Regions from separate parts of the Homo sapiens genome. Here regions 2, 3, 4 and 5 are each linked to region 1. Evidence: promoter capture Hi-C in 16 types of primary human blood cells and fetal thymus (Javierre and others, 2016). All regions are on one chromosome and are shown on one strand. The core of a region is centred on a gene start or on the middle of the fragment in contact, and the rest is flanking DNA. Distances in the headings are between cores, read along the strand shown.

Region 1 (6,135 bases), core at 1,727-4,226:
GCCAGGCGGAGACCCCAGAGACGGGGCTGATCTCCTAGGCGGGGGATGCCCTCCTCAGATGGCCCTGTCCTCCTCCCACGGTATCCTTGGTAGCCTGGGGCCAACTGCTCTGTTGGGGCTGGTAGACACAGCCCCTCCCTGAGCCTGGGGCCTGGCTTGTGTGGTGCCCGCTTCTCAGCCTTGGTACCTACAGAACTCATTCTCCATGGCCGGGAGACCTCTCCCAGGATGACGAGACACTGACTCCTAGCCACTTGCAGGGTTGACCCTCAGCAGAGACGGCTGTGTCCCCTTCCCTCCAGTGCCCCGCGGTCTCAACCCAGTTAACCGGTGAGTCTGACTGAAGGCAGCTTTCTCTGCTACCCGTGCAGGGTGCGTGCTGGTAAAGCCCGGCCCGTGTACTCCACCTGCCCCAGGAGCTGGAGACAAGACCTTGTGGCTGCGCAGCGGAAACCTTGCCTTGTGACCCCTGGAACTGGCTTTCTTGACTACTCCTTCCCCAGAGCAGCCAAGTTCCACTCCCGCTTTCCCCACACATTACCAGGAGGTTCAACCTCTCTGGCAGATCATCTCTTCCAACCAGGACTTCTTAGAGTCTAATGATGTTCATTCAGGTGTCCCCCCGCTGCTCCCTTGACCTCTTGTAGGAATCTAGACGCCACGAGCTCTTGGCTACAGCACCCTTAACCCGTATCCGTGGCAAGGCGTCTGGCCAGGCGCCCACCCTCTGCCCCTGGCCCTCCCGGCAGCCCTCGGCATGTACCTTTGTTGCAGAGCTCACAGACATGGTGAGGACCCTGGCTGTGCACCTTCATGTGGTCCGAAATATAAGCCGAGCTCAGCATCTTGCCACACACGTGACATGGCACTTTCTCCTCGTGTCGTACTGTGTGCGCCCGCAGCCGATCCTTCGTGGCGAAAGCTGCCTCACATTTCTGAGGAGGGGGGAGGGGCGTGGGGGGTGTCACAGGAGAGTTAAAGCTTGGTGGGCTGGGGAGGGGGGAGCAAGAGATTAAAGGAATCAGAGCCTTGGGGATCTTTGATCTGTAGGAAATGGGAGTGACATGATGAGGCCTTGAAGAAGGGATGAGAAAATGGAGCAAAAAGGCAAAAAGAAGAGAGAGAAAAAGGGGGTCTGAGAGACTGACTCAGACAGCTACCATGAGGATCAAAATCATGAAAACCAAGACAGGAGGAGGCGGGCTTCCTACCTCACATTTGAAGGGCCGTTCTGTTGAGTGCACTTGTCTGACGTGACTGTTGAGGTGATCCGGCCTGGGGACACGTTGGGGTTGGGGTTAGGGCGGAGGTGGTGCGCCCCAAATCCACCAAACCGCACCACAGGCCTTTCCGAGGATCCCTGCGCCTCCTCCCGGAGCCCAGGCCGTCACAGCGACACTTAAGCAGGAAATCCCTCCCCTGGAGCCCAGCAGCCGCTGCCGCCGCCGCCGCCTCCTCCCACGCGAAGCTTCCGTCAACCCCAAGGCCCACCTCCTCGACAAAGGACCACCCCTTGCTCCCTGGTAACCGGGAGAGGCTTCCTCCCTCCGCCCTGGGAGTGGCTCCCCTTCCCCAGCCTCAGCAGCCGCCTCCCTCCCCGCCAGCCACGGCCAGGCCACCTCCGTCGCGTCCCTCCCTCCCCACGGCCTAGCGGGCGGCCGAGGCCCCGTGCACACCGGGAGAAGCTCTTGCCACAGTGGGAGCAGTTGTAGGGCTTGTGCACAGCGCCGTCATGTGAGCGCACGTGGTAGCTCATGCGGTCCTTGCGCTTGAAGCGCTGCTGGCACACCGGGCACTGGTAGGGCTTCTCGTCCGAGTGCGACAGCTTGTGTCGGTTCAGGTGGTAGACGTCGCGGAAGGCCTTGCCACACATCTCGCAGGCATGGTTCTTCCGGATGCGCTTCCCCGAGGCGGTCGTGGTCACCACGCCACCGGCGGCCACTGCGGCAGCGCCGCCGCCGGCACCCGCCTCTCCCCCTCCCCCGCCGGCTCCGCTCAGCTGGGGCACGCTCAGGAGGCTCAGGGGCACCATGGTCGGCATCTTCATAGCACCCGAGGGGACCCGGCCGGCCTTGGCTCCCGTGTGGATGGCTTCGTGCCTCCGGAGATTGTAGCCGTTCTTGAACTCCTTGGCGCACAGAGCGCAGATGTAGGGCCCCTTGCTCTTTGTCTTCTTCTCCAAGGCAGACGCGACCGGGGCCACGGCGACCGTCGAGGTTGGGGCTACGACGGCGGTGGCCGCCGCCGCGGCGATAGTGGCGGCGGAGGCGGGGGGCGCGGCCTCGGCCGCGGGCGCCGACACTGGCGGGGGTGGCGGAGGGGGCGCCGGAGGCTGCTTCAGGGCCGCTGTGTCCACCGTAGAGGCGGCGGCAGGGGCCGGGGGCGCGGCAGCGACGGCGGCAGCAGCGGCGGCAGCGGCCGCAGCAGCCGCGGCGGACTCCTGGGCGGCGGCGAGCACCGGGAGCAAGTCCACCTGGAGGGGCTCGGCCGCCGGGGCCTGGGGCGTGGGCGGGGGCGCCGGCGCGGCCTGCGGAGACAAGGCGCCGAGTGGGCCGCGGGTGCGGGCGGGCGTCCCCCCCCAGCCCGGGCCGCCGCGGCCGGCCCTACTCACCTGGAATGGACTCTGGGCGCAGCCCTGGGAGGCAAAGAAGCGGGACTGGAGCTCAGCCCCGACCTGCAGGGGGTTCTGGGCGTGACCCTGAGGTGGCGGGAAGGAGTTCATGAGGCCGCCCACCCCCCGGGAGTCCAGGCCCAGCACGGGGAAGGGGGGGGCCAGCAGCGTGCAAGGAAACACCGGGAACATGGCCTCGGCCGCAGCGGGGCCCCCGGGGCTCAGCGGGGGCCGGGGGCGCGGGCCGCGCGGGGCCCGGGCTCGGGGCGCCGCCCCCGGCCGGCCGGGCTGGGCCGCGCCGAACGCATGGCCCGCGGGCCGCCCCGCCGCCCGCGCACCCCGGCCGGCGGGAGGGAGGAAAAGAGGGCGCCTTGCGGGCCGCGGAGCGCCGCGGCGACGGCGGCGGCGACGCCCCCTGGGTGGGGGCGGGAGGCCCCGCGGGGCCGGGGCCGGGGGCGGGGGCCCGGGCGGCGGCGGCGGCGGCGGCGGCGGTTGGAGCCTGGCGGGGCGGGGTGGGGGGAGCGAGGGAGCAGCCTCGGCCCCCGCCGCGCGCGCGCCCAGCCGGCGCCTCGGGGAGGGCGGGGGAGGGCGCGAGGGAGGGAGGGGGACAGCTGCGCGCGCACCGGGCGCGCGGAGGGGGGGTGGGACGGGAGGGAGGGCGGGCAGGAGGGGGTGTGGGCAGGGGGGTGGGGGCGGGGGGAGGGAGTTGTTACCTGGAAGATGAAGCTGCTCCAGTTGCTGGGATCCATGGCGGAGGGAGGGAGGGAGGTGGCTCGCGCTCACCCTGGGGCGGGAGGAGGAGGCGGCGGCGGTGGGGGAGGGGGAACCCGGGAGGAGGCGCGCGGGGCGGGCAGGAGGGGGGAGGTGGAGGGTGGGGGAAGCGGAGCACACTACGCGCGGGGAGGGCGGGCGGGGGGCGCGAGGACACACAAGAGGCTGGAGCGGGCGCGAGCGCTAGCGCGAGCGCGCGCGTGGCCAGCGGGAGGGGCAGGCGCGAGAGGGACTCTGGCGGGAGGAGGGACGGGGGAGCCACCCAGCAGCCCGAGTCGCCCCGAGCGCGAGACCCCTGAGACGGCTGCTGATTGGCTGACGATGGCGCAGGTGGTGGGCGCGCGGGAGACAGGGCGGCTTCTCTCCTCTTCCCCCCGCCAACGATTCCACTCCCCCTCCCTCCGCCAGCGGCCGTTATTTCGCGCGCACGCGCACAAGGCCGCCGTCGTTGCCGAGCGGGAGAATGGGGGAGCGCGCGCGCCGGGGGCACGGACGGGGCGGGGCTAATCCCTGAGCGCGCGCCCGCCTAACGGTCGCAGGCCTCATGCTTCGGCTTCCGCTTTTTGCGTCCTGCAGGCCACCGTCCTCCCCGCCCCACCCCAGCGGTGTATTTACAATCCTGCGCTGAGTCGTTCCCCGAAGATGGCGCCCAGTGGAGTCGCCTGCCTTGCTCGCGGCCCACCCCGAGGCGGTCACACCCCGGTCCCGCCCCCGCAGCCCCAAAAATCAGGCGGAAGCACCGGAGCAAAAACTGTATTTACACAACACGGGGTTATACAAAAATTTGAAAAGGCGGAGTGAGGAGACGACGGTCAGGAGGCGCCACAGCGCTGGCCGGCGGCGAGACCCAGGATGTTTGCCTGCAACACAGGAGGGAGGGAGACAGCGACGTTAGAGAGGGGCGCGGGGCGCAGGACAGGCAGAGGAGGGGCAGGGCCGTGACTTCACCTTCAGGAAGGACTCCATCTGTTTCCCCGTTATGCCCTCCACGCGTTCCAGGTCCTCCACCTGGCGGGACAGGATCGATAGGGGACAGGGTCTCGGGGGTACCCGGTCTCCCCCGCCCCCGCCCTCCCCCAGTCCAGTGGGCTGCTACCTGGCTGAAGGGGCCGTGGAGCTCCCGCCAGCCCACGATTAGCTGGGCCTTCTTCGGGCCAATGCGCTGAAGACTGCGGAGATCTCGGGCTGAGCCTTCGTTCAGCAGATCCAGTATTTTTTGGCGCCCATGAGCCAGTAGCTCCGGGCTGATCTGTAGCTCCCAGCAGTCCTCAGCCTTCTCCTCAGGCTCTAGGGCATCCAGGGACTCCAGCTGGGAGGCAAAGGGAGATGAGTGACACGCAGGGCAGCCAAGTGCTTTGGGCTCCTCTGCCAAGACTAGGAGCCCAGCACCAGCTACCTCCTGCGCTCCAGCCTCTTCCTCTCTTGTCAAGTGTGTCCAAAATCCCGCCCTCAGGTCACTCTCTGGGTTAATTCTTATTATGCAACTAGTGAAAGAGAGGTACTACTCAGTACCCAGTGGTAATATTAGCACCCTTCTCATGGAGTTGCTGTGGAGATCAAGTGAGTTAATGAATGTAAAGCACAAAATAAGCTCTTAAATCTGGTCCCTCATCTCTAAAAGGGAAAGAATAAGCTGTCTTTCAAAAAGTACATGGGAGAAAGTAATATGAATAAATGATACCTCCCCCAACCATCTCAGTTTTTGGGTAGTTCTAGTGGTGTTCGATTCTGGGTATGTGCATATGTGTGGTTTCTTGCTTGACTGCTTAGGTCATAGTTCCCTAAGTTTTCCCTCTTAAGCTTGTAGAGGGTAGAAGCCAGGCTACACAGTGGAACATCCGCTCTGCGAGGTACATCCACATCACTGCCTTCCACCCTAAATGCCCTGCAAGGAACCATCCATCACCACATTCCAGGGGTAAGCAAGTTGAGGTCTGTTAGTAGCTGGCGGCCATCATCCAGTTCGTTTAACCCCAAGGCCAACGCTCCTCCCCCTAGAGCCTACTCCCCCTTACTTCTGGGCTCCAGGTGTAGCCTAAGCCCCCAGCTACTTTCACCTTTCTCTTCCGGCCTTTATTCTTCAGGATGTGGATCTCGGCATTTGGGGATGCTGCCTGCTCCTGAACTGAAAGTAGGAATCGAGAATTGGAGTCAGGGCAAAGGGTACTTTTCACCCTCCCTGGTAGCCCTTCGATTCTTCCATTTCTGATTCCCCAGCTCCCCTCCATCCAGAGTTAACCTGTTGTGTTTCCACATGACCTTTTTTATACCCGCATTTAAAGGAATTTCAGTCAGTCTTGCATTATCTTCAATCCTCTACTCGTTTGTCCATCCCACTGTCCTAAACACCCGAGGGCAGAGCACCCCCAGCACTGCCTCAGAGCCTCCTCACCCCTCCCTGGGACTGGTATGTGGTGGGAGAATATGAATGACATGGAGACAGCTGCTCCTAACACTTCCTCCCTTATAGGATCTCAGCTGCCTTGGCCCCCCAGCCCCTGGAGTCAAACTTACTTAGCTGTAGGGGCATCACCACAGCCTTTTTCAGGGGCTTTGCCCCTGTGACTGTGCGATGTGAAAGGGGCCGGAGCATTGTGGGACAATGGTTCTCCTTTTCCTCAGCCTTCTGGGCCAACATCTTGGCCTCCAGTTCTTTTTGCTTCGTCTTAAGCCTCTGTTGGAAAGGATCAGGGAGATGTGATCCAGACCCAACTCCAGGGCAGCCTGAAGGGAGTGGGTTACCAGGGTGAGTA
Region 2 (6,135 bases), core at 1,573-4,072, 880 kb after region 1:
CCGCATGTCAAGAGAACTTCTTTGATGTTAGTCATGTGCTTCCCCTGTTCAATGGCCTTCAGTGGCTCCCAGGGCCTGCAGGATAAACTCAAACCTGAGAGCTGTCAGGAAGGCCCTCCCCAAACTGACTGGAGGCTGATTTCTAGTCATTATTTCAGCCCCTTCCCCAGAAACCCTGCTGCATGCACAGGGAGTCTGGATTTAATTTTTTTTTTTTTTTTTTAGACAGGGTCTTTCTCTCCCTCAGGCTGGAGTGCAGTGGCACAATCATGCTCACTGCAGCCTCAGCCTCCAGGGCTCAAGTAGATCTTCCCGCCTCAGCCTCTTGAGTAGCTTGGACTACAGATGCACATCACCATGCCCAGCTAATTTTTTTTTTTTTTTGAGACAGAGTCTTGCTCTGCTGCCCAGGCTGGAGTGTAATGGCATGATCTCAGCTCACTGCAACCTCTGCCTCCCGGGTTCAAGCAATTCTCCTGCCTCAGCCTCCCAAGTAGCTGGGACTATAGGCGCATGCCACCATGCCCGGCTAATTTTTTGTATTTTTAGTAGAGACAGGGTTTCACCATGTTAGCCAGGATGGTCTTGATCTCCTAACCTCGTGATCCGCCCTCCTCAGCCTCCCAAAGTGCTGGGATTACAGGCGTGAGCCACCGTGTCCGGCCATGCCCAGCTAATTTTTTAATTTTTTGTAGAGATGAGGTCTCACTATGTTGTTCAGGCTGGTCTCGAACCCCTGGGCTCAAGTGATCCTCCTGCCATTGGCCTCCTAAAGTGCTAGCATTATAGGCATAAGCCACCACACTCAGCCAGAGGTGGTTATTTTAGTTAGGGTGATCAGGGAAGGCCTCACTGAGGAGGTAACATTTGAGCCGAGACCTCAGCTCCAAGCTTGGTGGAAAACACTTGGTTTTATACTTGATGAAAAAGTAAGTGCGTGTTTAGTTTTGTTCAAAACTGCCATACTCTTTTTGCAGAGTGGCTATACCATTTCACATTCCCATCAACAAAATATGAGAAACCTAGTTTCTCCACATACTCACCAGCATTTGGTGTTAGCATTCTTATTTTAGCCATTCCAAGAAGTGCGTAGTGATGAAAGCAATTGTGGTTTTAATTTGTATTTCCCGAATAAATAGCTAATGATGTTTAACATCTTTTCATGCACATATTGCCACCTGTGACAGCAGTGAAATATCCGTTCATATCCTTTGTCCATTTTCTTTATTTCAAGTTCTGGGGTACATGTGCACGATGTGCAGGTTTGTTACACAGGGAAACATCTGCCATGGTAGTTTACCGCACCCATTAACCCATCACCTAGGTATCAAGCCCAGGATGCATTAGCTACTCTTGCTGATGCTCTCCCTCCCCCCTCCCAACACCCACCCCACAGGCCCCCATGTGTGTTGGTCCCCTCCCTGTGTCCATGTGTTCTCATTGTTCAGCTCCCACTTATAAGTGAGAACATGCATGTTTAGCTTTCTGTTGCTGCATTAATTTGCTGAGGATAATAGCTTCTAGCTTCATCCATGTCCCTGCAAAGGACATGATCTCGTTCCTTTTTATGGCTGTATAGTATTCCATGGTGTATATGTACCACATTTTCTTTATCCAGTCTATCATTGATGGGCATTTGGGTTGAGTCCATGTCTTTGCTATTTTGAATAGTGCTTCAATGAACATACTCGTGCATGTATCTTTGTAATAGAATGATTTATATTCCTTTAGGTATATACCCAGTAATGGGATTTCTGGGTCAAATGGTATTTCTGGTTCTAGGTCTTTGAGGAATCACCACACTGTCTTCCACAATGGTTGAACTAATTTACATTCCCACCAACAGTGTAAAAGCGTTCTACCTTTGGCCATTTTCAAACTGCATTATCTGTTTTACAAAAATCGCTCCAGCTGCTTTACGGAGAATTAATTAATTAAAGGGTGGAGTCGACACTGCGGAAGTTCAGGAGAAGTGATGGGAGCTGGGACGGAGTGTTAGCGCTGGAGATGGAGAAAAAGGGGCACATTCTGGAATAGTCAGCACATTGGAAGTAGAGTTTACGGGACTTGCAGGAGGACACGTAGAATCAAGGACTTCCAGGTTCCTGGCGTGTCCTTTACAGAGGGAAAAAAGGTTTGAGGGAAGGGGAACCAAGGCTCTGGACATAAATCTGAATTGCCTGTCACCGTCCGGGTGGAGGTCACAGATAAAGAGCCTGATCTAGACACAGGCGGAGAGGAGAGGAGGGATTTGAGGGCGTTGGGAGGAGGAAAGGGGGGCCAGCAGGAAGCGGTGACTGGCTGAGTAACAAAATGGGGGTGGGGACGTGCAAGTTTCAGACTCCGACTAACTACGCGGGGACTCCGAGGCGCTCAGAAAAATGAAGCCGACCCGGCCCTGCCCCGAGGGACGCTCCAAGAGGGCGGAGGTGCAGGGAGGGCCCCGCCACAATTCGCGGTAACGCAAGCCAGGCTCGGGCGGAAGGGCGGCCGGAGCCGATCAAAGGCTGGCTCCGGGCAGGGGCAGCGAGGGAGCGAGGGGGAGCTCTCCGCAGGCCGGTGTCCCGGAGGAGGCATAATTGGAGCAGGGCTTCCAAGGTCACGGAGAGACGCCGGGCAAGACCTCTTAAGGATCCTCTTCCGGGCTTGAAAGGCAGGCGTCCTCCCGAACCGCGCGACCCAGCCAAGAAGAGCCGGGGCGGGGCCGGGGCCGGGGCCGGGGGCCGACTCGGGAATCTTCGGCCGAGGCTCGGCAATCCCCCCATCCTCCGTCCGGGGCCTCCAGCCCGGGGCCGATCCGGAAACAGCCGAGCGGATCCGGAAACAGCCGAGAGGACCCGGAAGCGGTGCGCTCCGTCACCAGGGAGTGCGGGAATCCGCCGTTTGCGCTGAGGCAATGGCGGCAGCTGCGCCGGTGGCCGCGGACGACGATGAGCGGCGGCGGCGGCCGGGGGCTGGTACGTGAGGGGGCGTCCGTGCAAGCGGGGAACGGTGATGCTGGGGGCGGGGCCGAGCCAGCCACCTGCGGATGGGGGGTGGAGAGGGATGATGGAGGAAGGGGCGGGGCCACGCCGTCGGGAAAGGGGGCGGGGCCTACAGCCACAGGCAAAAGGGGGCGTGGCCCGGCCATTGAAGGGGTAGGGCCAGTGACAGGTGCGAAGTGGGGCCCGGTGAGGAAGGGGCGCGGCCACTAGGAGGGCGGGGCCAGGTGGGACCGAAGAGAGGACTGAGTGAAACTGGCCACCGCGAAGAGATGGAGTGTAGGCAGCACCCGGCAGAGCGAGTGGGAAGGGGGCGGGGCAGGGGCGGGGCCAGGTGAGCCGGGCGGGCCCAGGTGAAGGAGGCCCCAGATGAAGGCAACAGTACTAGGTTGCAGGACTTGCTAAGCCGGTAGGTGGCCTGGGGTAAGAGATGGGAAGAGAGGCTGATCCCTGTCCCCCACAGCACTGGAGGACTCCCGGTCCCAGGAAGGGGCAAATGGTGAGGCCGAGTCAGGTGAGCTCAGCCGGCTTCGGGCTGAGCTGGCAGGCGCCCTGGCAGAAATGGAAACCATGAAGGCTGTGGCAGAGGTGAGCGAGAGCACGAAGGCCGAGGCTGTGGCTGCGGTGCAGCGGCAGTGCCAAGAGGAGGTGGCCTCGCTGCAGGCCATCCTGAAAGGTGAGACGCGGGACTCACCTAGACTCCCCATCAACCCCATACTGGGGAGTGCATGACGAGAAAGGGATTGGGGGCACAGATAAGCTATGGGATAGGTTAGCAGGGCTGCCTGGCACAGGGCATGCCTATGGCCCAGAGGAAGGGCCGCCCTTTTAAAATTTGCATAGAGGCCCTCCATGTGATAGCAGCAGCTCTGTCAGTTATAGCTAAGTTTAGCTCCCAGCTTCTATCTGTTGCCTTGTCCCATGTCATTTCTTGTCCCTCACTGATGATTGATCAACCCTGAAGATGGGCGAGAAACTTCTCAGTTCCCCAAACCAACCTCATTTTAGTCTGGACTTCTGGGAAATAGAATCAGCCCTGGCCCAGTCTCTGTGAGTCTAATGCTCTGCTCTCTAGCCTTCCCCAGACACTCCCCCCTCCACCCCACGCCATGCACCAGCTTCCCCACCTCCGCCCCACGTTCTTTGTACTTGGTCCTCTGGCCCCAGACGCCCCAGCTGCTGATCCTGTTTTCTACTCTCCTTCCTCTAGCAGAAGCCAGAGACTCTGAAACAGATGTCAGAGCTGCCCCCGCTGCTATGCCCCTGCTGCGGTGGGGCTCTCGTCAACTCTCTCCTGGACTTTTGTCCCAACCTTCTCACAGATCTTCCTCTATAGTGTGGCCTTGACATTGGCTTCCAGAGTAAACTTCCTAAAATTCCCTTCCCAACATGCGATTTCCCTTTCTAACAGCTGCTGGTGGCTGGAGACTTCTCTGGGGCTGTATTTCCCACATTTCAGGATCCACCTGCCTGTGCAATGTAGACACATCCTTGTACAACTTACTGTGCTGTTTACTTAATATTTGTTCTTTAAATAGATCCACATTTTAAAAGTTTACATACATTTATTAAGGGAAACTTGTTATATCTACTATATAAGAAAAGCCAGGTGTGTCCTAAATAATAACAATAGCTAGCTTTTTTTTTTTTTCTTGAGTCAATAAGAGTTTCACTCTGTCGCCCAAGCTGGAGTGCGTCACAGCACGCTGGTGTGATCTCAGCTCACTGCAACCTCCACCTCCTGGGCTCAAGCAGATCCTCCTACCTCAGCCTCCCAAGTAGCCAAGACTACAGGTGCATGCCACCATGCCTGGCTAATTTTTAGTATTTTTTTGTAGAAACAGGGTCTCTCTATGTTACCCAGACAGGTCTTGAACTCCTGAGCTCAAACGATCTGCCTGCCTTGGCCTCCCAAAGTGCTGGGATTACAGGTGTGAGCCACCGCGCCTGGCCAGGTAGCATGTTTTGAGCACTCACTATGTGCCAGGCACTGAGCTAAATGCTTTATGAGTAACTAATCTTCATAACAAACTCTGTGAGGCAGGAACTATTACCCATCTCCATTTTACAGAGGAAGCTCTGAGGCCCGGAGAGGTTAAATAACTTGCCCAAGGTCATATAGCTGGAAAACAGCCAAAGGTTGGAAACCAAGCAGCCTAACAGCTGAACCTATTTTTTTTTTTTTCTGAGACAGTGTCTCACTGTTACCCAGACTGGAGTTCAGTGGTGCAGTCTCAGCTCACTGCAACCTCCACCTCCCGGGTTCAAGCGATTCTCCTTCCTCAGCCTCCCAAGTAGCTGGGACTACAGGCGTGTGCCACCACACGTGGCTAATTTTTTTTTTCTTTTCTTTTGAGATGGAGTCTTACTCTGTCGCCCAGGCTGGAGTACAGTGGTGTGATCTTGGCTTACTGCAAGCTCCACCTCCCGGGTTCATGCTATTCTCCTGCCTCAGCCTCCCAACCAGCTGGGACTACAGGTGCTCGCCACCACGCCTGACTAATTTTTTTTTTTAATTTTTAGTAGAGACGGGGTTTCACTGTGTTAGCCAGGATGGTCTCGATCTCCTGACCTCGTGATCTGCCTGCCTCGACCTCCCAGAGTGCTGGGATTAGAGGGGTGACCCACCACGCCCGGCCCCATTTTTTGTATTTTTAGTAGAGATGGGGTTTCACCGTGTTAGCCAGGATAGTCTCGATCTCCTGACCTTGTGATCCGCCCACCTCGGCCTCCCAAAGTGCTGGAATTAGAGGCGTGAGCCAGCACGCCCGGCCCAGCTGAACCTTTACTTCTACTGTTAGTGCACAATAATAGGTCAATATCTATACAAACAAAAAATGACCACGTTCTACCAAAAATCAAACAAGTCCATGTTACTCAGGTGGGAGGATCAGTTGAGGTCAGGAGTTTGAGACCAGCCTGGGCACCAAAGTGAGACCCTTAGCTGGGTATGGTGGCAAGTGCCTGTGGTCCCTGCTACTTGGGAGGGTGAGGTGGGAGGTTCACTTGAGCCCAAGAGTTTAAGGCTGCAGTGAACTATGATTGCACCACTGCACTCCAGCCTGGGTGACAGAGGGAGACCCTGACTCTCTTTTTTTTGTTTTTTTGTTTTTTGAGACGGAGTCCCGCTCAGTCACCCAGGCTGAAGTGCGGT
Region 3 (6,135 bases), core at 1,045-3,544, 840 kb before region 1:
AGGGCACCACGGGGACCTGGAAGAGAAAGAGGTGTCAAGAGCAAGGTGATAGAATGAGGCTGGACGGGACAAGGTTTCCCTGTGCCTCACAGTGCCCTGAGCCACAAACATAACAGAGATTGGGGCTAGAATTCACTCGGATCCCAAGAGAAGAGATGAATTGGACTGAATTAGGGGCCAGATATTAAGAGTCCTAAACTGCAGGTGTAGGACCTGGGTAATCTCATCCACGCTGTTTAGAGAAATGAAAAAGACAGGGTGAGCTAGGGTGGGTCACTGCCTTTTTTGGGCCAGTTTTTCTTATCTGTGCAGTGGAGTCAAAGACCTCAGCCTGCTTCCTAAGGAGGCTGGGCTGGGAAGAAAGCAGAAGAGTTTCGGCCCAGCGCCGTGGCTCACGCCTGTAATCCCAATACTTTGGGAGGCAGAGATGGGAAGATCGCTTGATGCCAGTTTGAGACCAGCTTGTGCAACATAGCAAGACCCTGTCTCTAAAAAAAAAAAAAAGATAGAAAAAAAGAAGCAGAAGAGTTTCTCAGAGTTACAGGGATGTGGTTCCAGCCCAAAATCGTTGGTGGGTGGAATGGGCACTGCCCAATTCTAGGTTGGAGTAAGTGGGAGCCAAGCAGGACTCTACCATGAGGGAGGCTGCCTGAGGGCTGAGTACAACAATGATGGATTTGGACTTCAGTTATCCTCAGTAGGGATCTGGCCCGAGTTTGGTAGTGAGGAAAGTCATGGGGGAATAGAGAGTCTCTTGGTTCAGGGGGCTCACCATGTGAACAGCCATGACATCTTCTAGCACCACGGCCAGGACCCGCCGAGAGGCCTTTTCCAGGGGAGAAGGGGCCCCCGGGAGCTGCAGCCTCGGCCGTTTCGGGCTCCTGGCTCCCCATAATGCTCGAGTCAGAGGCTGGCGGCACAGACGCGGCTGGCCAGGCGGGCTGGAGGGTGAAAGAAGCAGAGGACGGTCGCCCGAACCTGTCGCTGGCTCTGTAGTTTCCCGGCACGGTCGCCAGGATCCCCATCTCCCGGGGTCAAGACAGGCGGGCCGCCCGGGTACGCTCTCACCTGGAGTCCCCGGGCAAGTCCATGGGAGACGCGGCGGCTCCGGGGGGGTCCCTGGGGAATCCCAGGCTGCGGCCTGGGGTAAGGGGGGAGCGGGGGAGCGGGGGGTGAGGGCCGGCCCCTTCCCTGGGGCTCCGCCCTTCATGGTCCGCCCGCGGCTCCCCGTAGCCCAGCGGCCGCAGCCCTGGGGCGCGAAAGGGCGCCCCCGGCCGGTCGCCCGGAGCGGGTGTCCTCCCGCTGCCACCGCCTCGATCAGCGGATCACTCGCGCCCTGCCTGGCACCTGCCGCCAGAACCCAGAATGCAGCGGCCCCAGTTCTCCCGCGGCCCGAGCCTCCCGAGGCCTTTGTCCCTGCAGATTATGCCCCGAGATCCCCCGGGATCCACGGGGATCCCGGTCCTGGGAGGCTATTTCCGCTGGATCCCTCTGCGATCCTCCTCCTCTCCCAGCGAGTGGCCGAGGACTCCAAAGCAATACTCCATACATCGACGACCCTCCATCCCACCAGATCCCCTAGACTGGATCCCTGAGGAAAGAATCCTACAGCGCGGTTCCGCCAATCAGACGCCGGGCGAGGCTTTTCCTTCCCCTGTAAGCTTCAGCGCCGCAAAGCTCCGCTCAGACAGGGGCGGCCCGAGCTGGAGCATCTCCGAACTCAGCGTAGATCCCCAGGGATCCACTGTCAAGCAGATACCCTCTTCACTCCAATCCCGGGAGGTCCCGCCCACAGACGCCCCTTCCCTCCTCGCGTCCCCGCCCAGCGGTCTCCCCCGGCCCGGGACCAGATGGTTCAGAAGTTTCCTTCCCCGCCCCCACTCCCGCCCTCTCTCCAGCCACTCCTTGCCCTCCCCCAAGGGCTGCTCACCGCCGCCTCCCGTGGATCCCGGGTCTTCCGCAGCTCCCACCTCCGGCTCCTTTAAAAACCAAGCTTACCCAACGCTGCCCAACCGCCGATGGCCTTCTTCTCGGAGCCTCTGGACACCGCCCAATCGCCGGTCCCCGTCTTCCGGGGTGGTGAGAAACTAAGTGAAGCCACCTGGCGGCCATCATCCCTAGGGGCAGGAAGCCAAACTGAGTGGCGCCGCCATGATGGTTGAGGGCAGATGTCTTAGTCCTCGTTGAACCGTGGTGGACCGGGTGGCGTCATCTTTTGAGGGCCATATACAATGCCAGGTTTCTTGATATGTTGAGGCAACCGATTGAAGCTAGAGTGCCGCCACGCTTTTTAAGGGCATCTTCCGGTTCTTTCGTTCTTAGGCCAATAAACGTCGACTGAGTGCTAACGATATGTGAAATTCCCAATTTCCTAGAGTGGCCTCGTTTGAGGAAGGTTCCGGCATCTTCCTGGGTTCCTAAACTGGGTTCCCACGGCCCAGGGTCCGAGTTTAGGAGGGGGTGGTGGAGGCCCTGAGTCCGAACACCCGGGATCAAAGACGGGCTGGTGCGGCCTGTGGCTCCGTTGCTGGCGCCTTGTCCTGGAGAGATGGGACCGAGCCGAAGTGGGGAGGAGACTGGGGGCGCTAAGCTTGACTTCCCCTGAGTGTTGCCCACCTACTTCTTCCTGGAGAAGTGGGGGTGCCCACGGTCCGCGCAGAGGTCTATAGGACAGGGGCATCTTTGCAGGAGGCCAAGAATATACCTTGGCTTGCTAGTGGGGCCCGGCTCTCAGGAACCACTGTCTCAAGTGGGGCCCGCAGGATGGGGGAGGTGTAAATAGTCCTGAGGAGTAAGGGATCAGGGTGGGACGCTGCTGCTTGGAGGAGCTGCGTCATGGACCCTTTACTGGAAGCTGGGCTGTTGGTGGGGAGGAAGTGGGCATGTAGTGGCTTCTTGCAGCGCTATGAAGGTGCCCTGACCGCTTAACCAAAGCCCATGTCTGCACTAGTTCTCCTTCCCCAGATTCCCTGGTCCAAACCAGTACTTCTTTTCTTTTTTAATTTTTTTTTTTTAATTTGAGGCAGGATCTCGCTATGTTGCCCAGGCTGATCTTGAACACCTGGGCTCAAGTAGTCCTCCCGCCTCAGCGTCCCAAAGTGCTGGGATTACAGGCGTGAGCGCCCAGCACGAGTCCTTATTTTGTTTTCTTAACAGAACGAGAGACCCTGAAGCCTAGAATCCTGGGTCCGAGATAAGGTGCAGAGGTGCTTCCTGGTTTAGGTGTCATAATTCTCAGGGGATTGAGTGATGAAAGTGATAAAACAGGGCCGGGTGTGGTGGCTCACACCTGTTATCCCAGCACTTTGGGAGGCAGAAGATAGCGGATCACTTGAGGCCAGGAGTTCAAGACCAGCCCGGCCAACATGGCAAGACCCCATCTCTAAAAAAAAAAATACAAAAAAATGAGCCGAGCATGGTGGCGCACGCCTGTAGTCCCAGCTACTCAGGAGGCTGAGGTGGGAGGCTCTCTTGAGCCTGGGAGGTCGCAGCTGCAGTGGGCTATGATCGCGCCACTGCACTCTAGCCTGGGCGACAGAGACCCTGTCTCAAAACAGACAAACAAACAAGGGATGATATGGAAAGCATAATCGAGAAGGGCTTATGTGGGAAATGGAGGCTCCCCAGCTCCGTCCCTAAGGACTCATGCAGGGAGACGTTCTTGCAGGACTACAGCATCTCTGTAACAGGAGGTCCGCTGGGTCCTCTGGAAACCCATTCAGACTTCTGGTGGGAGCAGGCCGCCGTGGTTCTTCCACGTAGAGGTGTTTCTCTCCCTCTGGATCAGGGCTGGCAGTATGGGTGCCTGAGGAGGTACAGTGATGTTTCATCCAGCTGTGAGTGCTTGGAGATTCTTTCAACCTTGCCAAATTAAGACCTAAACCCCACAGGTGCTTTTCAGGCCCCAGGGCAGGAAAAACTTTCAAAAGCAGAGCAGGCCTAACCTGAGTTTTTAGGTATTTTTTGTTTGTTTGTTTTTTGTTTTTGAGACGCTCTGTCGCCCAGGCTGGAGTGCAGTGGCGCCATCTCAGCTCACTACAACCTCCGCCTCCTGGGTTCAAGCGATTCTCGTGCCTCAGCCTCCCAAGTATCTGGGACGACAGGTGCTCACCACCACGGCCGGCTAGTTTTTTGTATTTTTAGTAGAGACGGGGTTTCGCCATGTTGGCCAAGCTGGTCTCGAACTCCTGGCCTCAAGTGATCTGCCCGCCTCGGCCTCCCAAATTGCTGGGATTATAGGCATGAGCCACCACACCTGGCCCTAATCTGAGTTTTGATTCTCTAGGTCTCTTGAAGTCAATGACACCAAGGGTAAAAGATGTAGTCCAAAGAAAAGTCCTGGACCTGAGTATTTGGTAGGAAGAGCCCACCAGTGTGACCCTAACTTGGGGTGCTAGAGTTCATCAAATGGAAGTCTAAGGTAGACTGTGGCAGTCTTGGCCCTTAGCCCAGGCCAGCAAATGTGAGCCCTCATGATCTTGCGGTCTCACCTCTGCTCTTTTTGTGACTTCCCATTTCAACAACTTTACTTTGCCCACTGCCTACACAGGTGGTGGACACACTGTGGGGTGTACCACAGTGTATGCTGATGCATTAGCAAGAGGGCCCCACACAGCCTCCAGTGGGGCTGCTGGTGTGGCCGTGGGTGCACTTCAGTGTGTCATTATTCAGAAACTCAGGGTCCGTTTAGACTCTGGGCGGCCCATCTTTCTTTTTTCTTTTCTTAGACAAGGTCTTGGTCTGTCACCCAGGCTGGAGTGCAGTGGTGTGATCATGGCTCACTGTAGCCTTGACCTCCTGGGCTCAAGTGATCCTCCCACCTCAGCCTCCCAAGTAGCTGGGACTATAGGTGTCCGCCACCACGCCCGGCTAATTTTTTGTATTTTTAGTAGAGATGGGGTTTCACTGTGTTAGCCAGGATGGTCTCGATCTCCTGACCTCGTGATCCGCCCACCTCGGCCTCCCCAAGTGTTGGGATTACAGGCGTGAGCCACCGCGCCTGGCCTGGACCCTTTAAATATATATATATATTTAAATTTTTTTTACCAGCCAGCATCATGCTAAGTTTTGTCAATAGATGGCTGGAGAGACATTGCAGGAAGAAAGAGTTTTGCTTCCCAGTTCAGCAAACCCTCCTGGGAGGCTCCTGCAGCACAAGTGGGTTCCCAGCTCCCTGCTTCTGCAGGGCAGGGTGGCCAGCAGAACCCCAGGGTCAGCAGCTCCCCCAGGTGCCCTCTGGATGGTTTTGCAGTGGAGTTCCTCTGTGGAGACACCTGCCCATGAACAGCTTTCCCTGGCACCCAAGAGGGTGGATTTCCAGCAAGTTCCACCAGACTGACACTCCAGCAACTACTGTACTTCAGCGACTTCTGTACTTCTGTGCCCTCTCCAAAAACTTGTGGATCTCAGGAAGGAAGGAGGTCTGTCTTTCTTTCTTTCTTTCTTTTCTTTCTTTCTTTCTTTCTTTCTTTCTTTCTTTCTTTCTTTCTTTCTTTCTTTCTTTCTTTCTTTCTTTCTCTTTCTTTCTTTCCTTCCTTCCTTCCTTCCTTTCCTTCCTTCCTTCCTTCTTTCTTTTTCCTTCCTTCCTTCCTTCCTTCCTTCCTTCCTTCCTTCCTTCCTTCCTTCCTTCTCTCTCTCTCTCTTTCTTTCTTTCGACAGGGTCTCACTCTGTCACCCAGACTGGAGTGTGGTGGCTCACCACAACCTCCGCCTCCCAGGCTCAAGCGATTCTGCCTTAGCCTCCCAAGTAGCTGGGATTACGGGCACATGCCACCATGCCTGTCTAATTTTTGTATTTTTAGTAGAGATGGGGTTTCACCATGTTGACCAGGCTGGTCTCAAACTCCTGACCTCAAATGATCCACCCGCTATGGCCTCCCAAAGTGCTGGGGTTACAGGCATGAGCCACCGCGCCTGGCCAGAAGGAGCCTTTTTCTTGTATGCTCTGTCTCCGCCTGAGAGGAGCTGTGGCTGCTCCTTGTATTAGGTTGGTGCAAAAATAACTGTGGTTTTTGTCATTAAAAGTAATGGCAAAACCGCAATTACTTTTGCACCAACCTAATATCTGCTCTTCTTGCATTTTTTTTTTTAGAATTCTGTTTACTTCTTATTATCTGTAGTGGGCAGAATTTTGTC
Region 4 (6,135 bases), core at 991-3,490, 620 kb before region 1:
GAGACTGGGAACAGTTCCATCAGCCTCGGAATCTCCTCCTGGCCTTGGTTGGGGAAGTGGGGGAGCTGGCAGAACTCTTGTGAGTAGATGGAAAGCTTCCTGGTAGAGTCTGAGTTGTGGGGGAGGGGAGGGGAGCATTTATTTGGTCTTCAAACATTCATGGGTTCAGTTTCCCCTCCTGATTGCTAGGCTCTTTGCTGTTGTTGGGATGCAGAGAGGACTCACGGGTCCCTGCCCTCTAGGGGCACTCAGCCTCCTGGAAGAGAGAGGTGTGAGGTGTGAAAGCATCAGGACAGGTCCCGTCTAGGAAGAAGCAGTGGCAACAACCCTTTTCCCTTCTTTTGTTTTTTGTTTTTTTGGCTTTTTTTTGAGACGGGGTCTCGCTCTGTCGCCCAGGCTGGAGTGCAGTGGCTCAATTTCGGCTCACTGCAACATCCGCCTCCTGGGTTTAAGCAGTTCTGTCTCAGCCCCCCGAGTAGCTGGGACTACAGGTGCCCCCCACCACGCCTGGCTAATTTTTGTATTTTTAGTGGAGACGGGGTTTCACCATATTGGTCAGGCTAGTCTCAAATTCCTGACCTCAGGTGATCCACCCGCCTTGGCCTCCCAAAGTGCTGGGATTACAGGGGTGAGCCACCACGCCTGGCCCAACAACCCTTTTCCTCTGCCTCTGGGGCTGAAAGGAAGGTATTCTGTAGAGGACCTGCCTGTGGCATTCCAGACATGGGAACTACATTTGCAGGGGCAGTGAGGCAAGAAAGGGCAAGTTCAATTCAGGGAGAATCTGACGCTCCTTCATTGTAAGCATCTCAGGAAAAATCAGGGATTTGGGATCTGTTTTCTCTGATGTGTCCCAAGTGCCCAGCGCATAGTAGGCGCTCAATAGGCACACGTTGGATGAGTGATAGGGCTGTGGAGGAGAGGGGTGGGAGTTGAACCCACAAAGATATGATTAGGGCTAGAGTATGATGGAGAGTTTGGACAGAAGACCTGACCAGATATGAGTGTTGGAAAGGTCACTGTGTCTACAGGGTGGATTGGATGGATCACTGAGAGAATGGGGCAGGGGACACCAGAGAGTTGGCTGGTGTAGACCAGGCAAGAGGCGATGAGCCCTAGACCAGGACAGTCATTTTTTTAAGAGAAAAGGTCTCACTCTGTTGCTGAGGCTGGAGTGTACTGGTGTGATCATAGCTCACTGAAGCCTCAGGAGCTCAAACGATCCTCCCACCTCAGCCTTCGGAGTAGCTGGGTCTACAGGCGTGCGCCACCACCAAGCCTGGCTAATTTATTTTTACTTTTTGTAGAGATGGGATCTCTCGCTGTTGTTGCCCAGGCTGGTCTCAAACTCCTGGTCTCAAGTGATTCACTTGCCTCACCATCCCGCAGCACTGGGGTTACAGGTTGAACCACTGCACATGGCCTCATGACAGATTTATGAACATCACCTATGTGCTAGGTCTTCTAGAATTGAGATATGGCCTGGAACAAGGCAGAAAGGTTTCCACCTTCACAGTGGAAGGAGATTGACAGTAAATCAGTAATCTCATATTAGAAGATCTGGAATTATGACAAGTTCTATGAGGAAAAGAACACAAGGTGATGACCCAGTCTGGCCAACATGGTGAAACCCTGTCTCTACTAAAAATACAAAAATTAGCCAGGCATGGTGGCGGGCGCCTGTAATCCCAGCTACTCAGGAGGCTGAGGCACAAGAATCGCTTGAACCCAGGAGGCAGAGACTGCAGTTAGCCAAGATCACACCATGGCACTCCAGCCTGGGCGACAGAGCAAGACTCTGCCTTAAAAAAAAAAAACAAAAAAGGGGCTGGGCGGGGTGGCTCACACCTGTAATCCCAGCACTTTGGGAGGCTGAGACGGGCAGATCATGAGGTTAGGAGATCAAGACCATCCTGGCTAACACGGTGAAACCCCGTCTCTACTAAAAATACAAAAAAATTAGCCGGGCGTGGTGGCGGGCGCCTGTAGTCCCAGCTACGCAGGAGGCTGAGGCAGGAGAATGGCGTGAACCCAGGAGGCGGAGCTTGCAGTGAGCCGAGATCGCGCCACTGCACTCTAGCCTGGGCGACAGAGCAAGGCTCCGTCTCAAAAAAAAAAAAAACCCAACGAAAAAGGTCCAGGTGCGGTGGCTCACACCTGTAATCCCAGCACTTTGGGAGGCCGAGGCAGGCAGATCACCTGAGGTCAGGAGTTCAAGACCAGCCTGGCCAACATGGTGAAACCCTGTCTCTACTAAAAAATACAACCATTAGCTGGGCATGGTGGCACACCCCTGTAGTCCCAGCTACTCGTGAGGCTGAGGCAGGAGAATTGCTTGAACCCTGGAGGCAGAGGTTGCAGTAAGCCAAGATTGTGCCACTGCATTCCAGCCAGGGCGACAGAGCAAGACTCCGTCTCAAAAAACAAAACAAAACAAAACAAAAAAGACCAGCCTGGCCAACAGGCTGAAACCCTGTCTCTACTAAAAATACAAAAATTAGCCGGGTGTGGTCACAGGCGCCTATAATCACAGCTACTCAGGAGGCTGAGGCAGGAGAATCGCTTGAATCCGGGAGGCAGAGCTGGCAGTGAGCCAAGATCACGCCATTGCACTCCAGCTTAGGCAACAGCAAGACTCTGTCTCAAAAAAAAAAAAAAACCGGCCAGGTGCTGTGGCTCACACCTGTAATCCCAGCATTTTGGGAGACCAAGGCAGGCGGATCATGAGGTCAGGAGATCGAGACCATCCTGGCTGACACGGTGAAACCCCATCTCTACTAAAAATACAAAAAATTAGCTGGGTGTGGTGGCAGGCGCCTGTAGTCGCAGCTACTCAGGAGGCTGAGGCAGGAGAATGGCGTGAACCTGGGAGGCGGAGCTTGCAGTGAGCCAAGATCGTGCCACTGCACTCCAGCCTGGGCGACAGAGCAAGACTCTGTCAAAAACAAAAACGAACAAACAAAAAACACACAAGGTGACGAGCCAGGAGGTGACATCTAGGCTGAGCCCTGAATAACAGGAAGGAGCTAGCCCTGGGAATGATGGGGGATGGGGAAGCATTCAAGGCAGAGGGAGCAGTGAATGCAAAAGGCCTGTGACAGTCTGGCCTGTGTGCAAGGCAGAACAAGCCAAAGTGGCCTTAGGCGGGGAGTGAGAGTGGGGGGCAGTGGCATTGGAAAAGGCAGGCGTCAGCCCATGCAGGACAGGAGGGCTTTGTCAAGAGTTTAGATTGTATTCCAAGCACAGTTTGTATTTTAGCAGAGAAGGGGAAAAATACAATTTGTGGGGTCTCGTTTTGTTTTGTTTTGTTTAGTTTTTGAGACGGAGTTCTGCTCCTGTTACCAAGGCTGGAGTGTGATGGCGTCATGGCGGGTCACTGCAACCTCCGCCTCCCGGGTTCAAGCGATTCTTCTGCCCTCCTGCCTCAGCCTCCCAAGTAGCTGAGATTACAGGCATGCGCCACTATGCCTAACTAATTCGTATTTTCTGTAGAGATGGGGTTTCACCTTGTTGGCCAGGCTGGTCTCGGACTCCTGACCTCAGGTGATCTACCCACTTCACCCTCCCAAAGTGCTGGGATTACAGGCATGAGCCATGGCACCCAGCCAATTTTTTTTGTTTCATTTTGTTTTGTTTTGTTGTTTTTTTGAGACGGAGTCTTGCTCTGTTTCCCAGGCTGGAATGCTGTGGTGCGATCTCGGCTCACTGCAACCTCTGCCTCCTGGGTTCAAGAATTTCTCTGCCTCAGCCTCCTGAGTACCTGGGATTATAGGTGCCCACCACCATGCCCAGCTAATTTTTTTGTATATTTAGTAGAGACGGGGTTTCACCATCTTGGCCAGGCTGGTCTTGAACTCCTGACCTCATGATCCACCCGCTTCAGCCTCCCCAAGTGCTGGGATTATAGGCGTGAGCCACTGCGCCAAGCCTGATTTGTGCTTTTAAAAGATGGTGTGGGCCGGGTGCGGTGGCTCATGCCTGTAATCCCAGCACTTTGAGAGGCCGAGGAGGGCGGCTCACCTGAGGTCAGGAGTTCGAGACCAGCCTGGCCAATATGGCAAAACCCTGTCTCTACTAGAAAAACAAAATTAGCCGGGCATGGCGGCACATGCCTGTAATCCCAGCAACTCGGAAGACGGAGGCAGGAGAATCGCTTGAACCCGGGAGGCGGAGGTTGCAGTATCGCCCCATTGCACTCCACTCCAGCCTGGGCGACAGAGCGAGACTCCGTCTCAAAAAATAGAAAAGATGGTCTGGGCAGGAGTAGAAGATGAGCTAGCCAGGAGATGAGTGGGGAGGCTTCTGCAGTGGTCCAGGTCCGAGGTTTGGTCTGTGGTGGTGACGGCTAGGGCTGGAGAGAATTAGAATTGGGCCTCAAAGCTTTGTCTCAACAGATGAAACATTCTTTTGGCCACTCCTTGGCCCAGGGAGAGACACAGACATCTTGGTATCATCTGTCGGGGTCTCTTCCCCACCTGACTCTTCCCAGGGCCCAGATTGGTTAGGTCGTCCTTGGAGGTGGGTGTTATTACTGCAAGGACTGGCAGAGCCCATTGCCCCAGGTTACATCTGAGTGTGTGTCTGTCTGTGTTCTGCCCCTAGTCAGTGGAAAACCGATGGGGAACCTGGCCCCCAAGGCTGGTCCCCCAGGGAACGGGCAGCCCTTCAAGAGGAGCTTAGTGACGTCCTCATCTACCTGGTGGCATTAGCAGCCCGCTGCCGTGTGGATCTGCCGCTAGCAGTGCTCTCCAAAATGGACATCAACCGGCGACGCTACCCAGCCCATCTGGCCCGCAGCTCTTCCCGCAAGTATACAGAATTGCCCCATGGGGCCATCTCTGAAGACCAGGCTGTGGGGCCTGCGGACATTCCCTGTGACTCCACAGGCCAGACCTCAACCTAGAAAGATGGCCACAGGACTTGCAACTCAGGGTGGTGTCTGAAGAGCAGAGAGTGGCCTGGCCCTGGAGCCTTTTTCTAGTCTTTTCAGAATAGATCATGGGCCTGAGGCCTCCACTTCTTGAGGTCTGAGGCCCAGCAGCCTCTAGAAGGTAGCCTCCTGGTGTTTGTTCTCCCAGTAAAATGGTTTTGGGCGATAACTTCTAGATTATTCCTGGATGGCCAGGGAGGCTCTCTGTCTCAGCAGGTGATGACGGGGGTACCAGGGGTGCCTCTGAGACCCATTCTCGTGTTTCCCTGTTGTACCTTTTGCCTGCAGGGCAGAGAGATCTGGTTTCTAGCAAATTCCCAGTAGGATGTCATGTAAGTTCCTTCCCCCTCTTAGAGATTGAAGGCTGTAAGAGTCCAGATGGTGGAGCCAGGCTGTCTGGGTTCAAATGCCATCTTTGACACTTGCAAGCTAAATGACATTACTCAAATTAATCGTTCTGCACTTCAGCTTCCTTGTCTATCAAATAAAAAGAATAGTACCTGCCCAATAGGGTCGTGAGGTTTCAATGAGTTATGTGAATGCTCAGGGCGGGGCCTGGCACATAGTAAAGTACACTTGGTAAGTTTTGCAGTTACTGTTATTACCTGTTTTCCTTTTTTTTTTTTTTTTGAGACAGAGTCCTGCTCTTGTAGGCCTGGCTGGAGTGCGGCGGTATGATCTCGGCTCTCTGCAACCTCTGCCTCCTGAGTTCAAGCGATTCTCATGCCTTAGCCTCCCAGTAGCGGGGATTACAGGTGCCCACCATCACGCCCAGCTTTTTTTTTTATTGTTTTGAGACGGAGTCTCACTCTTTCGCCCAGGCTGGAGTGCAGTGGTGTGATCTCGGCTCACTGCAAGCTCCACCTCCCGGGTTCACACCATTCTCCTGCCTCAGCCTCCCGAGTAGCTGGGACTACAGGTGCCCGCCACCACGCCCGGTTACTTTTTTGTATTTTTAGTAGAGATGGGGTTTCACCATGTTGGCCAGGCCGGTCTTGAACTTCTGACCTTAGGTGATCTGCCCACTTTGGCTTCCCAAAGTGCTGGGATTACAGGCCTGAGCCACCGTGCCCAGTCGTTTGCCTTTTTATTTATTTATATATATATTTTGAGACTGAGTCTCGCTCTGTCACCCAGGCTGGAGTGCAGTGGCGTGATCTCAGCTCACTGCAACCTCCGCCTCCCAGGTTCCAGCGATTCTCCTG
Region 5 (6,135 bases), core at 1,544-4,043, 580 kb before region 1:
CACCCGGCTGATTTCAGAATTTTAACTAAGACCATAGAGATGCTCAACCTGGTGAGAGATGCAGGAGGAAGGCCGGTGGTGGAGTGCTGAGAGGTAACATGATCCCTGCCCTTTGCTTATTTATTTATTTATATTATTATTATTATTATTATTATTATTATTATTATTATTATTATTTGAGAAAGAGTTTTGCTCTTGTTGCCCAGATTGGAGTGCAATGGCACAATCTCAGCTCACCGCAAACTTCACCTCCCAGGTTCAAGTGATTCTCCTGCTTCAGCTCCCGTGTAGCTGGGATTACAGGCATGCGCCATCACGCCCTGCTAATTTTGTATTTTTAGTAGAGTCAGGGTTTCTCCATGTTGCTCAGGCTGGTCTCGAACTCCTGACCACAGGTGATCTGCCTGACTCAGCCTCCCAAAGTGCTGGGATTACAGGCATGAGCCACCGCGCCTGGCCTACTTATTTATTTTTTTGAGACGGAGTCTTGCCCTGTCGCCCAGGCTGGAGTGCAGTGGCAGGATCTTGGCTCACTGCAACCTACGCCTCTCAGGTTCTAGCAATTCTCCTGCCTCAGCCTCCCTAGTAGCTGTGATTACAGGCGTGCACCACCATGCCTGGCTAATTTTTGTATTCTTAGTAGAGACGGGGGTTTCACCATGTTGGCCAGGCTGGTCTCGAACTCCTGGCCTCAAGTGATCCGACTGCCCTGTCCTCCCAAAATGCTGGAATTACAGGCATGAGCCACCGCACCCAGCCCCCCTTTCCAGATTCTTAACAGTCCCTAGATGGTATTAAGTAGCATTTTTGTTTGTTTGTTTTTTGTTTTTTGAGACGGAGTCTTGCTCTGTCACCAGGCTGGAGTGCAGTGGCACGATCTTGGCTCGCTGCAACCTCCACCTCCTGGGTTCAAGCAATTCTGCTTTAGCCTCCTGAGTAGCTGGGACTACAGGCAATGCCACCATGCCCAGCTAATTTTTTGTATTTTTAGTAGAGATGGGGTTTCACCATGTTGGCCAGGATGGTCTCAATCTCTTGACCTCGTGATCTGCCCGACTCAGCCTCCCAAAGTGCTGGGATTACAGGTGTGAGCCACCGCAGCGGTCCTGAGGTAGATTTGTTTGTTTGTTTGTTTGTTTGAGATAGGGTCTTGCTCTGTTGCCCAGGATGGAGTGTAGCGGTGCAATCTCGGCTCACTGCAACCTCCACCTCCTGGGCTCAAGCAATTCTCTTGCCTCAGATTCCCAAGTAGCTGGAATTATAGGTACGCACCACCATGCCTGGCTAATTTTTGTATTTTTGCTAGACAGGGTCTCGCCATGTTGGCCAGGCTGGTCTTGAACTCCTGGCCTCAAGTGATCCACCCGCCTCGGCCTCCCAAAGTGCTGGGATTACAGGTGTGAGCCACCACGCCAGCCAGGTGCTGGGAATCTGAAGGAGGGACAATGACCCTGCCTAGGGTAGGTGGAGAGATTGCATAGAGGCAGAGCCCTTGGAAAGAAACACTTGAAGGATGAGGAAGAGTTTAACTGATTCAGAAAAAGGAAAAGCTCAATGTGGGTAGAGAGCCAAGGACGTTTGGAAGAGTGAGAGATGGGGTGATGAGGCCAGCTGAGGGAGGCTTTGGCAGTCAGGCCAGAATTCAGACTTGACTCTGAGTTACTGGGGAGTTCCTGAAGGATTTTGAGCAGTGGAGTTCTTTGGCCAGGATTCTGAAGGAAAATCTCTCGGGCAGTGGTGTCCAAAGACCTGGAGTCCTTTTATGAATCCATTGTCTGAGCTGGAAAATGTATGGCTTCACCCACTCCCAATCCCATCATGGCTTCTGGTCCACTTTTTTCTTTTTCTTTTTTTGAAACAGCGTTGGCCTGGCATGGTGGCTCACGCCCGTAATCCCAGCAGTTTGGGAGGCCGAGGCGGGCAGATCACGAGGTCAGGAGATCGAAACCATCCTGGCTAACACGGTGAAATCTCGTCTCTACTAAAAACACAAAAAAATTAGCCAGGCGCGGTAGCAGGTGCCTGTAGTCCCAGCTACTCGGGAGGCTGAGGCAGGAGAATGGCGGGAACCCGGGAGGTGGAGCTTGCAGTGAGCCGAGATGGCGCCACTACACTCCAGCCTGGGCAACAGAGCGAGACTCCGTCTCAAAAAAAGAAAGAAAGAAAGAAAAAGAAACAGGGTTTTGCTGTGTTGCTCAGGCTGGAGTGTAGTGGTGTGATCACAGCTCACTGCAGTCTTGATCTTCTGGGCTCATGCAATCCTCCCACCTCAGCCTCCCCAGTAGCTGGGACTACAGGATTGTACCAACATGCCTGGCTAATTTTTTAATGTTTTGTAGAGATGGTAGAGGGGCACGTCCCTCTGTTGCCCAGGCTGGTCTGGAACTCCTTGGCTCAAGCTGTCCTCCCTCCTCCGCCTCCCAAAGTGCTGAGATTACAGGCGAGAGCCACCTTGCCCGTCCTGGGAACTGTTTTCTAATCAGCTCATCAAAACCTTCATCTCCCCTGCTAACAAAGGGAGCCACTTCCTTCCTCTCTGCACATACCCCATGTCTCACCACGATGATGGAGCTACAGTGGGACTTGGAATCCAGATGTGTGAAGGATGGAGGGTTGAAGGTACGTAGACAGGTGATGGGCAAAGGGGTCCAGGAGGTGGCAACCCCAAGTGTTCTTGGCCTTGGCCTTCCCCACCTCTCTGGGACTGGGCCAGTTTGAGCATCTCAGCTGCCTCTTCTGCCCGCCCCCTTGTTAGCCGCACTCAGCTTCCTGCCCCACCAGAGGAAGTGGGGAGAGACGGCAGGTGCAGTGATGGCTGGCGGAGTCATGGTGAGTCCTTACACCCAGAAACCTGGGCATCTCGGCCCCCAGCCCCCATGCCTGGGGTCCCCAGACCCCACTGACTCTTCCTAGCCCAGGAACTCAAGTGATCCTGGGGACCCTGCCTGCCATTGCCAGCAGCCTCATATTGTCCACCCCCATCCATAGGACAAGGAGTACGTGGGTTTTGCTGCCCTCCCCAACCAGCTGCACCGCAAGTCTGTCAAGAAGGGGTTTGACTTCACGCTAATGGTGGCAGGTCTGGGGGTTTTGGAGAGGGAACTGCGGAGGGGATGTCCTTAGGAGGCCCTGGCTGTCCCCTCCCCTGACCAGTTGGGCCTGTTCTGTCCACAGGGGAGTCAGGCCTAGGGAAATCCACCCTCATCAACAGCCTCTTCCTCACCAACCTCTATGAGGATCGCCAGGTGCCAGAGGCCAGTGGTAAGACCCTCCCCACCCTCTTGAGGCAGTAGCCCCTGTCCCCAGGTTACACCCTAGTCTTTTCCATCTGGGGACTCAGGTAGTTGACTGCTTTTTTTCTGAGACTTTCCTCCCCTGGGAAATGGGTGCAGGCAACTGTGATATTGACAAAGGAAATTAATTCTGCCTCAGAGCCTCCCCGGATCCCTGACCTCTCCCCCATCCCACAGCTCGCTTGACACAGACCCTGGCCATTGAGCGCCGGGGCGTAGAGATTGAGGAAGGGGGTGTGAAAGTGAAGCTGACCCTTGTGGACACACCTGGCTTTGGGGACTCAGTGGACTGCTCTGACTGGTGAGGAAGAGGAAAGGGGACAGAGGCTCAGCCTTTCACAGTGGCGACTCCCTGGAGAGTTACAGGACTGGTTTGTGCTGGCTCCCTATCTCAAAAGGTGGTGTCTGTTTCAGAGGGCCACTGGGTCCCTGTGCTTCTTGATGACTCACCTAGGCCCCCACCAGTTCCCCTTAATGTCTTTGGAGGGAGCCAAAGAAATGACATTCTACTCCCACAGTCCTGGCTAGCCTTGCCCCCTGCCCTCTGGCCTTTGATCTCTGACCTCACATCCTCTCCCCACACCCAGCTGGCTTCCGGTGGTGAAATTCATCGAGGAGCAATTTGAGCAGTACCTTAGGGATGAGAGTGGCCTGAACCGGAAGAACATCCAGGACTCCCGAGTCCACTGCTGCCTCTACTTCATCTCACCCTTCGGCCGGGGGTCTGGTGGGGGGATCCTGGGGGCTGGCGCATTTAGGGAGGGCTGGGGGGTCTCTGCCCCCTGAGGCTGGGCAATGACCAATCCCTGGGTGCAGGCTCCGGCCCCTAGATGTGGCCTTCCTCCGGGCAGTACACGAGAAAGTCAACATCATCCCAGTCATTGGCAAAGCGGATGCTCTGATGCCCCAGGAAACCCAGGCCCTCAAGCAGAAGGTGTGAGTGATGACCTCTGACCTTTGACCCCATGTGAAGCCAAACCTGATTTCAGCTTAGACTTCTTTGATCTTGAAGTGGCCTTTCTGGAGCATGGTGCATCAGGCTAGATTGTAGGAGAAGCTTCTGAGGAAGGCGGGTGGTAAGCCGCCAGCATAGCCATGTCTCTGAAGGCTCAAAATAGGCTACATATGCAGCCCCCGGGCTAGATGCCTGGCTGAGGCCTATTTGAGGGCAGGAGCATAGACATGAGAACATAGTGACTTCCCTCTGGCCCCCACCCCGTGTCTTCAGAGCCCTTTCCCACTGTTTCTGCTTATATCTCTCTCGGCCTCTCTTTCTCTCTCTTTTTTTTTTTAGATAGAGTCTCACTCTGTGGCCCAGGCTGCAGTACAGTGGCAAGATCAGAGCTCACTGCAGCCTCGAACTTGTAGGCGCAAGTGATCCTCCTGCCTCAGCCTCTTGAGTAGCAGGGACTATAGATGAACACCACCATGCCTGGCTAACTTAAAAAATATTTTTTTGGCTGGGCTTGGTGGCAGACACCTGTTAATCCCAGCACTTTGGGAGGCTGAGGTCAGTGGACTGCTTGAGCTGAAGAGTTTAAGACAAGCCACGGCAACATGGTAAAACCCCATCTCTACAAAAAGTACAAAAACCAGCCAGGTGTGGTGGTGTGCACTTGTAGTCCCAGTTACTCAGGAGGCTGAGATGGGAGGATCACCTGAGCCTGAGAGGTTGAGGCTGCAGTGAACCAAGATGGAGCCACTGGACTCCAGCCTGGGTGATAGAGTGAAACCTTGTTTCAAAATATATGTGTATATTTGTTGTAGAGATGGGATCTAGCTATATTGCCCAGGCTTCTCCTGGTCTCTTAATGTCTGCCCCATCTTAGAATCTTGTGTTTCTCACCATCTATGTCTCTGAGATTTTGTTTTTGTCTTCCTGTATGTCCATCTCTCCCCATCTCTGTCTTTCATGTCTTTCTCTCTGTCTCTGACCACCCAGTATCTCTGTGTCTCACTGTCTCTGGTCATGAAATGTCTGTCATTGTGGCCCGTTTCACACTGTCTCTATATCTGTTTCCCCTGAGATCCGGGATCAGTTGAAGGAAGAGGAGATCCACATCTACCAGTTCCCCGAATGTGACTCTGATGAAGATGAAGACTTCAAGAGGCAGGATGCAGAGATGAAGGTGTGGGAAACAAAGAAGGAAGGCAGGCCGGGCACGGTGGCTCACGTCTGTAATCCCAGCACTTTGGGAGGCTGAGACGGGAGGATCCCCTGAGGTCAGGAGTTCCAGACCAGCCTGGGCAACATGGCGAGACCCCACCTCTACTAAAAATACACAAATTTGCCAGGTGTGATGGTGGGCGCCTGTAATTCCAGCTACTCGGGAGGCTGAGGCAGGAGAATCACTTGAACACTCCAGCCTGGGCAATGGAGTGAGACCCTGTCTCAAAAAAAAAAAAAAAAAAAAAAAAAAGAGGAAGGGGCAGGAAGCAGAGGAGGCGGGTGTGGAGATTGAAGCTGGGAAAGAGAAAGTTTCTGCCGTGTGAGCCAATGGTGAACCCCTGCCCCCTGCCCTCCAGGAAAGCATCCCTTTTGCAGTCGTGGGATCATGCGAGGTGGTGAGGGATGGCGGGAACCGGCCGGTGAGGGGACGCCGCTACTCCTGGGGGACCGTGGAGGGTGAGTGAGGCCAGGCAGGGGTCCTAAGGCCAGCAGGGAGCCCGGGGCCTCTGGGTCAGGCGCACTCAACATGTGAAGTTGGGGTGGGCTTTGGTCCCAGGGGATCCTAGGAGGAAAGGGGGGTCGCTGGGCTGCAGACCGCGGACCCTCCGCTAGAGTGGCAGCAGGACTTTCCTGTAGACCCGACCCTTACGGGTGGGTTGGACCCGAAACTCC

The links. Contacts are between HindIII fragments. The CHiCAGO score rates a contact against its expected background, and 5 or more counts as called.
Region 2: the fragment with the promoter of RABEP2 here is called in contact with the fragment with the promoter of MAZ in region 1 in 3 of 17 cell types (fetal thymus, naive B cells and total B cells); the score reaches 8.8 in fetal thymus.
Region 3: a fragment that was not itself captured here is called in contact with the fragment with the promoter of MAZ in region 1 in 3 of 17 cell types (non-activated CD4 T cells, erythroblasts and naive CD4 T cells); the score reaches 6.6 in non-activated CD4 T cells.
Region 4: a contact is called between a fragment that was not itself captured here and the fragment with the promoter of MAZ in region 1, in 1 of 17 cell types (fetal thymus). The highest score is 5.7, in fetal thymus.
Region 5: the fragment with the promoter of SEPTIN1 here is called in contact with the fragment with the promoter of MAZ in region 1 in 1 of 17 cell types (activated CD4 T cells); the score reaches 5.5 in activated CD4 T cells.

The regions. Positions count from the first base shown.
Region 1 is chr16:29,803,370-29,809,504 of GRCh38, reverse strand. MAZ (MYC associated zinc finger protein) reads right to left here and starts at 2,976. Exons shown (of 5, transcript NM_002383.4): 1 at 2,612-2,976; 2 at 1,677-2,527; 3 at 1,212-1,275; 4 at 764-935. The coding sequence starts at 2,803. KIF22 (kinesin family member 22) reads right to left here. Exons shown (of 14, transcript NM_007317.3): 10 at 5,897-6,056; 11 at 5,440-5,507; 12 at 4,479-4,691; 13 at 4,331-4,390; 14 at 4,121-4,242. The coding sequence ends at 4,195. It overlaps MVP-DT (MVP divergent transcript), which reads left to right. Exons shown (of 4, transcript NR_186424.1): 4 at 372-861. RefSeq lists enhancers at 1,186-1,425, 3,996-4,045 and silencers at 1,506-2,175, 3,076-3,215, 3,346-3,685, 4,426-4,475. The HindIII fragment of the contact is 3,714 bases long and covers 1,471-5,184 here.
Region 2 is chr16:28,921,925-28,928,059 of GRCh38, reverse strand. RABEP2 (rabaptin, RAB GTPase binding effector protein 2) reads left to right here and starts at 2,822. Exons shown (of 13, transcript NM_024816.3): 1 at 2,822-2,957; 2 at 3,445-3,657. The coding sequence starts at 2,897. RefSeq lists enhancers at 1,779-2,362, 3,341-3,570, 3,601-3,690 and silencers at 2,581-2,930, 2,961-3,180. The HindIII fragment of the contact is 8,433 bases long and covers 894-6,135 here.
Region 3 is chr16:30,646,602-30,652,736 of GRCh38, reverse strand. PRR14 (proline rich 14) reads right to left here and starts at 1,777. Exons shown (of 12, transcript NM_024031.5): 1 at 1,610-1,777; 2 at 1,069-1,141; 3 at 773-941; 4 at 1-16. The coding sequence starts at 1,091. RefSeq lists silencers at 1,129-1,418, 1,689-1,888 and enhancers at 1,909-2,318, 2,022-2,537, 2,538-3,055. The HindIII fragment of the contact is 597 bases long and covers 1,996-2,592 here.
Region 4 is chr16:30,423,001-30,429,135 of GRCh38, reverse strand. DCTPP1 (dCTP pyrophosphatase 1) reads left to right here. Exons shown (of 3, transcript NM_024096.2): 2 at 1-79; 3 at 4,603-5,521. The coding sequence ends at 4,903. Among named protein-coding and RNA genes, the nearest start is that of DCTPP1, 4.0 kb to the left of the region's middle. RefSeq lists enhancers at 2-502, 503-1,003. The HindIII fragment of the contact is 4,285 bases long and covers 98-4,382 here.
Region 5 is chr16:30,379,219-30,385,353 of GRCh38, reverse strand. SEPTIN1 (septin 1) reads left to right here and starts at 2,793. Exons shown (of 11, transcript NM_001365977.2): 1 at 2,793-2,829; 2 at 2,989-3,079; 3 at 3,175-3,261; 4 at 3,471-3,594; 5 at 3,881-4,015; 6 at 4,110-4,227; 7 at 5,321-5,422; 8 at 5,820-5,919. The coding sequence starts at 2,812. It also overlaps a transcript of ZNF48 not described here. RefSeq lists enhancers at 5,427-5,984, 5,985-6,135. The HindIII fragment of the contact is 7,382 bases long and covers 1-4,352 here.